Regions from separate parts of the Homo sapiens genome. Here region 2 is linked to region 1. The links are contacts of gene promoters, found by promoter capture Hi-C in human tissues and cell types (Jung and others, 2019). All regions are on one chromosome and are shown on one strand. The core of a region is centred on a gene start or on the middle of the fragment in contact, and the rest is flanking DNA. Distances in the headings are between cores, read along the strand shown. Region 1 holds the start of JPH3 (junctophilin 3). Region 2 overlaps ZCCHC14 (zinc finger CCHC-type containing 14).

What was found. The method cuts DNA at HindIII sites, captures the fragments that hold promoters and counts their contacts. A contact is called where the count stands out against the background at its distance.
Region 2: a contact is called between a fragment that was not itself captured here and the fragment with the promoter of JPH3 in region 1, in 2 of the 25 tissues and cell types used here (H1 embryonic stem cells and IMR-90 fibroblasts).

The regions. Positions count from the first base shown.
Region 1 is chr16:87,600,759-87,604,208 of GRCh38, reverse strand. JPH3 (junctophilin 3) reads right to left here and starts at 1,701. Exons shown (of 5, transcript NM_020655.4): 1 at 681-1,701. The coding sequence starts at 1,062. LOC124903750 (a long non-coding RNA gene) reads left to right here and starts at 2,026. Exons shown (of 2, transcript XR_007065172.1): 1 at 2,026-2,197; 2 at 3,104-3,450. RefSeq lists an enhancer at 2,600-3,162. The HindIII fragment of the contact is 15,663 bases long and covers 1-3,450 here.
Region 2 is chr16:87,468,934-87,472,455 of GRCh38, reverse strand. All of the region lies in intron 1 of ZCCHC14 (zinc finger CCHC-type containing 14), which reads left to right. Among named protein-coding and RNA genes, the nearest start is that of ZCCHC14, 22 kb to the left of the region's middle. RefSeq lists enhancers at 397-1,354, 2,040-2,624, 2,625-3,210. The HindIII fragment of the contact is 5,698 bases long and covers 1-3,522 here.

The sequences.
Region 1 (3,450 bases), core at 452-2,951:
ACTAATGGTGAAAACGATGCAGCCACTGAAAGACGAGATTCCTGGGCTCTCACTGAGCAGATGGGCCTCCCTCCTCCCTCCAGCAGCCTGCTTCGACAGCGCTAGTCCGCGTCCAACCACCTAGAAGTGTACTGCCTGGCTGTTTTGGTTCGGGTTGGCATCCCCCGCCCCTAGCGCTCCCCATCACTCCCTTTCTCTCGGCTTGGGCAGATTCGGGGCTGAGGAAGGCCCTCGGGCGCCGCAGGAACACCAGAAGCGAAGCTGGGGCCTGATCGAAGGGCGGCCTCCAGGGTGGGGGGCAAAGCCAACAAGGGGAGGGGCCCTTCTCCCAGCCCCCTCTGCCCTTGCTGGGTTCCCCAGGGCCGCGGGCCCAGCCTGGCCCTTCCCGCAGGTCTCCGGCCTGCTGTGTCCGACGCACGGAGGCTCTGCTGGGCCCCGCCTGGCTCTGCCCCTGGAAAGCCCCCAACACCCTTCAGCTGGCACAGGGGCACTGTCCCCACCAGGCAGCGGGGCAACCTGTAGCCAGGAGCCGCCGTGGCTTCCAGGGAAGCCCGGGAAAGGCCCCTGGTGCCCACGGCCCAACCGGAGGACGCAGCTCAACTTCCCCAGAGATCCACAGAAGGGGCGCGATCGGAAGCACGTCCCTCCCGCCCCGGCCCGGCCCGGCCCGCGGCACCTACCTCCGTCCGAGTAGGTCTCGGTCCCGTAGCCGTCCTGCAGCCCGTTGCTCCAGGTCCCTTCGTATTTGGCCCCGTTGCCCGCGCACTCCCGCACCCCGTAGCGCCCCTTGAATCCGTGCGTCCACTCGCCCTTGTACACCCACTTCCCCTTGCTCTCCAGGCCGATGCCGTGGCGCTTGCCCTGCGCCCAGGTGCCCTGGTACGTGTTGCCGCTGGGCCAGGTGTAGACGCCCAGCACCTCGAAGCCGTGGCTCCACGAGCCGGTGTATTCGCCTTGGCCCTTGGGGCCGGTGCAGACGCCATGGCCGTGCGCCTTGCCGTCCTCCCAGCCTCCACAGTAGGACCCTCCGTCGTCAAAATTAAACCTGCCCCCACTGGACATGCATGTAACTCGGTTCCAGATCCCGCAAACGGTGAAAACGGACTCAGGCGATCGACACAGCAGAGTCGCGGCCGCCGGCGGCCCTGGGTCGCGAGCGTTTTCCGGAGGAGAGGAGGACGCGGCCCCGGAGCGCGGTCTCGGGCGCGGGCGGCCGCGGCGCCGGCTCCGGAGGAATTTCAGTCAATCGGGGGCGATTATTCCTTTTCGAGCTGCGCCGCGGAGCCTGACCAGCGTCTCGCGCTCCCGCTGGAGACAGGACCGGAGGGGAGGGGGAGGGGAGGAGGGAGGGAGGGGGCAGGAGCGGCGGCGGCGGGGCCCGCGGCTCCACCTCAGCGGCGAGAGGGCCCCTCGCCGGCAGCCCCGCGGGGAGGGCGCCGCGCCGAGGCCGGGCGGGGGGCAGCTCAGGCCCGGGCCGCGGCCCCCCACCTGCGGCTGCCGCGCTGCGGGCGCCCGAGGGCGGCGGCGGGGCCCGCGGGCGGCGGCGGCGGCACGGGCGGCGGCGCTGGCGGCTGCACCATATTGGGGGCCGCGGGCCGGGCGCGGGGCGGCGGCGGCAGCAGCAGCAGCAATGCGGCGGCTCGGGCGGCGGCGGCGGCGGTGGCGGCGGCGGCGTGCGCTCCGGGCCCGGCTCGCGCGCTCGGGCCGCGCGGCGCGCGCCCGCACCCCGCCCGCCCGCGCGCCCCCGCCCGCCCCCCGCCCCCCGCCCCCCGCCCCCGCCCCCGCCCCCGCCCCCGGAGCGCGGCGGTCCCAAGAGGGGCGCGGCCCAGCAGGCTAGGGCGCGGCGCGCGGGCGGGGACCCCGGGCGCCCCGCCCTCCGCGCCCCCAGCCCCGCGCTCCCCGCCCTGGGCTTCCCCGGGGCCCCCGCCGGACTGGAAACCGGGGTCCAGCCGGGGCGCCCCCGCCCCCTCCGGGAGTGGGATTTAAAGGCACAGGAACTGCGTCATGGGAAGGCGCGCAGCACTCAGGGCGCCCTCGGCCCCCTCCCGGGAGCTGGGCGGTGAGGCCTGCAGAGCAGGACCTGCCAGCTGAGCGCCCCTACCCTCGCCCCTGCCCGCCCCCGCGCCTCGCCCCTCCCGCCGGGCTCGGATCTGCCCCGCCTGCCCCTGACTCGACTGAGGCCCTTTGCAAACCACAGGTGGTTTTCTCCGGTGACAAACAATGCTTCCTTCTTCCTTCCGGGCAGCTTGGGTCCAAGAGTGGGGGGAGGGGGGCTTACCCCAGAAAACAGGGATTTGGCGAGTCCCTCTCCCCTATAAATTGAGTGAGAGTCGGGACACACGCGTGTATCTTGGAGCAAAGTCACCCGAATTCCGTGCGCCCTGCGCCCTGGCCAACAGGTAGCGCCCCCCCACTCGGGGAACGGTCGCGCTTTTGGGGAGCAAAGTGGGACCGCCATTCGGGCGTTTCTAGGTCTCTCTCCAGACATACTCTCACCCTCCGCCCCTCTTCCCACGCACAAGAGAGAGTCTGATTCTTGGATCCGAGCATCCTGGGATCCATTTAAAATGCATTTCCTGGACCATAAATCCTCAGGCAGAAGCCGGCGTCCCCAGCCCTCCTGAAATGCGTGCGGGAAATGGCAGCAGACCGGTGCAGTGGGCTGATGGGGGTGTGGAGGCTGCCCAGGGTCCTCGCTCCTGGGAGTGTGGGCCGGTGACCGCAGCGCGGTGAGCCAGAAACTGCAAGCCAGGCCTGGAGCCTGAGATTAGGACAGGAGAAGAGGTGCGATTCGGAGCCTCCAATCAGCCAGGAGCCCTGCTCAGATCTTCCCCTGTCCGAGAGAATCAGGATGGTCCCCACTCTTGGCTCACGGGGCTCTCAGAAAAATCAGCCCCTCCTGGGAGTCCCAGAGTTCAACCTCAGTCTCTTGCCTTGGGCACCAAAGCTCCCTCCCCAGAGTACCAGCAGCCAGGAGGACAGTCACCTCCTCATACACCCACTGTCAATGAGGAACATTTAGGGCGGTCGGCTTTGTTTTGTTTTGTGCAGTTACAGTGATTCATTGAGCTTTCTAGCGCTGTCTCCCTGTGCCCCTCTACAGAAGTTCTCTAAATGTCTGCGGTGGCATCATTGGACCAGCTACGTCTTGGACTTTATTGGAAGCTGCCAAATTGCTTTCCAAACACCTGGAGCAACTGACCTCTCACCCTTCAGTGTGCCTGGGTTTGTGGTTCTCTATTTCCTGGCCAGCACTGGTGTCCTCAAACTTCTGATTTTCTTTCCATTTATTTTACTTTGTTCATCTAAATGGGTATGAAATAATATCTCTGGGCTGTTTCATGTCCATGGAAATTTCTCTGTTGTAAATGTGTGGGCCAAAGGAACTGCACCTTGTCCTCAAGAGATTCGGGTCGAAACCTTGGCTCCGGGGCCCACCAGCAGTATGGC
Region 2 (3,522 bases), core at 674-3,173, 130 kb after region 1:
CTGAGGGAGAGGCTTTGCATGCGTGCCTCGGTGCACGGTGCCAGCCTGGATCCCTGTGGCTGTGGAATGGGCGCTTGCTGTTTGCCAGGCTCCATCCTGAGAGCCATGCTTGGTGGACTGGCTACTTCAATCCTTGCACCAACCCTCGGAAGTCAATATGGTGGCTGTCCCCACTTTACAGATGGGGACACAGGCTTGGAAATGCCACATCACTTGTGTCGCACGACTAGTGATGGGGGCGGCCCTCCCGAGGGTCTGACTGTAGGGCCGGCATTTGGCATCACTACAGGAGGTTGACACTTTCACTATTATGTTTACTCCTCCTACTTCAGTTCCACCCCTACCCCCAGCCCAGTTTTATTGACACTTGCACTTGTCTGTGCAAGCATTTTCTCTCCTGTTGCATAAAGTTGTTTTTTTTAGTGGAGGGTAGTAGTTGCTCAGAAGCACTGGAAGACAGCAGTGGTCAGAGCCCGGTCAGCAGTGAAGGTCAGCGCCATTGCCGGCCTCCGACCCTAGTGGTGAGTAGGTCGCTGCTGGACAGGAGGGCAAGGAGGGGCTAGGAAGGCAGAAATGAGTTGTTGCTCATGAGTACAAGCAAGATGCTGGTGTTCTCTCTGAAGTCAATACATCCGTTAAGATGCCCTTTGAACCCTGTTTTATGGGATTACAGGACTAGGAAGTATGTCTTTAGCCTCCCTAGGGCTCTCGACTTTAGACTCCCTCTGTTTCTACAGGCAGTGTCTGGAACAGGGATTCTGGGTGTGTTGGAGGCTGACTGTAGGGAAGCCCTACCCCAGAGGTCCCATGTGGTTGGCCCCTGGTGGGATGTCTTGGCACCTGGAGGCCTGGAAGCCCCCGCGGGTGGGCAGTTGGGGCCGGTGTTCCTAGAGGAGGCCGTGCTGCCCTGTGGCTATTTGTGAAAGAGATTTGCATCTGGTCACTCTGGGAGCTGGTCTAGTTAAGTACTGGGTTCCCTTTGCTGAGATTTTAAGCAGTAATCTTTTTTCTCTCTTTCTCTTTTTGATGAGTAGAGCTCTAGGTTAAGAAATATTAAAAGGAATGTTTTTACATGGAAAATGTTTTTTTGGTTAGCGTTGGCTTTCACTTGGTCTAAGTCAGCAAATAGCTTTCACTCTTAAACTGTCTGTCTTCTTGTTCTGGTTTTTAGAGACACGTAATGACTATTTTAGCAAAATGCTTACAAATCTATTTTGTTTTTATGTTTTATGTTTTTTACGTTAACTTAAAAGTATTTAACAGACGTTACTCCTTCCTGTATAGAGGTAGGTTAATTGGAAAACAAATTGAAAACACTATTTTTTCATAGTCATGTTTACTGTATTTTGTTTGTGGGGGTAGACACTTTGAAGTTCATGTTAACCCCTGATGTGCCCGGCCCTCGAGATATGTGTGGAAGGAAAGTGTGGTTATGGTTTTAGAAGCTTGCTTTTTCTATACTTTTCATATCATTCACATCTTGTAGGGAGGTATTTATATTTAGACTTAATATCTGTAACTTTTTTAAATTCTAGAAGTAGTGATTGTTCCTCACAGAAAAATTGGAAAACAGAAAAATAAAATAAAAATTACCCAGAGATAAATGCTAGTAATATTTCGGTGTACCTTTGTCTTTTCTCAGTGCCTGTTTGCACACAACTGATGTACGTTCTGCCCATTTTCACATTATCTGTGAGCATCCTGCATGCCTTTTAAGACTGCATAATATTCAGTCATCTGGACATACACATTTAGCGACCTATTTCAATAGTAATCTGTTGCTGGGATGTTTATGTTGTTTGTTTTTCTTTTTGCTCAAGCTGAGATAAATCTCCTTACACACAAACCTTTGACTACATCGCTGATTGACTGTATCCTAACAGCAGACTCCTCCCAGTGGGATTAGTGGGTGAAAAGCTACAGATGGGAAAAAAGCTCATCACATCCTGCCTCCTTGCTGTCCAGACAGTGGCCCCAGGTTACACTCAGCTGAGGACGAGGCCACCCCCTGCAGCTTTATGAGCATTTGACTCCTGAGAACATTTTAACTGTAGTCCAAGTAATTAAATAATTATTCAAGCTGTCATGTGCTTGTTTTCATTATTTATTTATTTATTTATTTATTTGAGTTGGGGTGTCGTGCTGTCTCCCAGGTTGGAGTGCGGTGATGCAATCATAGCTCATTGCAGCCTCAACTTCCCAGGTTCAAGCGATCCCCCCACCTCAGCCTCCTGAGCAGCTAGGTACAGGCACACACCACCACACTCGGGTAATTTCTAAATTGTGGTAGAGATGTAGTCTCACTATGTTGCCCAGGCTGGTCTTGAACTCCTGACCTCAGGAGTTCCACCTGTCTAAGCCTCCCAAAGTGCTGGGATTACAGGTGTGAACCACTGCTCCTGGCCCCAGGCTGGTTTTGAACTACTGGGCTCAAGCGATCCTCCTGCCTCAGCCCCCCAAAGTGCTGGGATTGCAGGCGTGAGCCACTGTGCCTGGCAAGTGCACTGGTTTTAGAACAGACGATCACATGTCGTGGTAAAGTCTCTACTTGAGAAGATAGGCCCTGGCCCCCAGTGCAGGGAACACGGAGCTGGGGTGGCTGTGGGTGGCTCTGTCCTCATCCCCAGTGCTTCTGGGGGTGTGCTGCCCACAGGGGTGCAGCAGATGCTGTAGACACAGGGAGCCCTGCCTTCCGGGAGGCCCAGTTGCCGGTGCCCCTCCTGGATCCTCCCAGAGCTCCGAGTCTCTGTGACAGCACTGAAGCAATTTAATTGTCCTCCAGCCACACCGCAAGCACCACAATAATAACAGCAACTAACATTTTGAATGCTAACATTTTTCCAGTTCACAGTACTAGAAATGCATTTTACTGAATTCTCACAAAAGCCTTAGGTAGGTGCCATTATTTCCATCCCATAGTGGACGAAACAGGGGCTGCCCTGTGTGGACCCAGCACTGGCCGCCGAGACGGCTCCTGACCGCTGTGCTCCGCTCGCCTCCTTGGATTTAATGTGCACAAATCACAGACCTCTGTAGTTACAGGACCTAAAGTCTGCACTTGATTCTGCTCCCTACTGGCCAGATGACCTTGGGGAAGGCATTTAGGAACTGACATTCAGTTTTTCTTGTTTTTAACATGGAGATAATTTGATCTGTGTACGTCACGTACTGCAGGGATCAGATGGATGATCTCATATGGCTGCATAATGGATACTTGGGAAGAACTGTACAAAAGGTGGTTATAGCCGGGTGCATTGTCTCATGCCTGTGGTCCCAGCTACTCGGGAGGCTGAGGCAGGAGGATGACTTGAGCCTGGCAATTTGAGACCAGCCTGGGCAACATAGACCATGTCTCCAAAAAAACAGACAAAAATGCTAGTACTTTTTGTTCTTTTATTCTCCATGGTCTCTCACAATGTGTCTTGACATCGTAGGCATTCCATTGGCACCTGGCTTTTTAAACTGACCGTATTCTTTTTAAAGATGTCTAGACCTGGCTTTCTCAGCCTGCGTCGTTTGCCA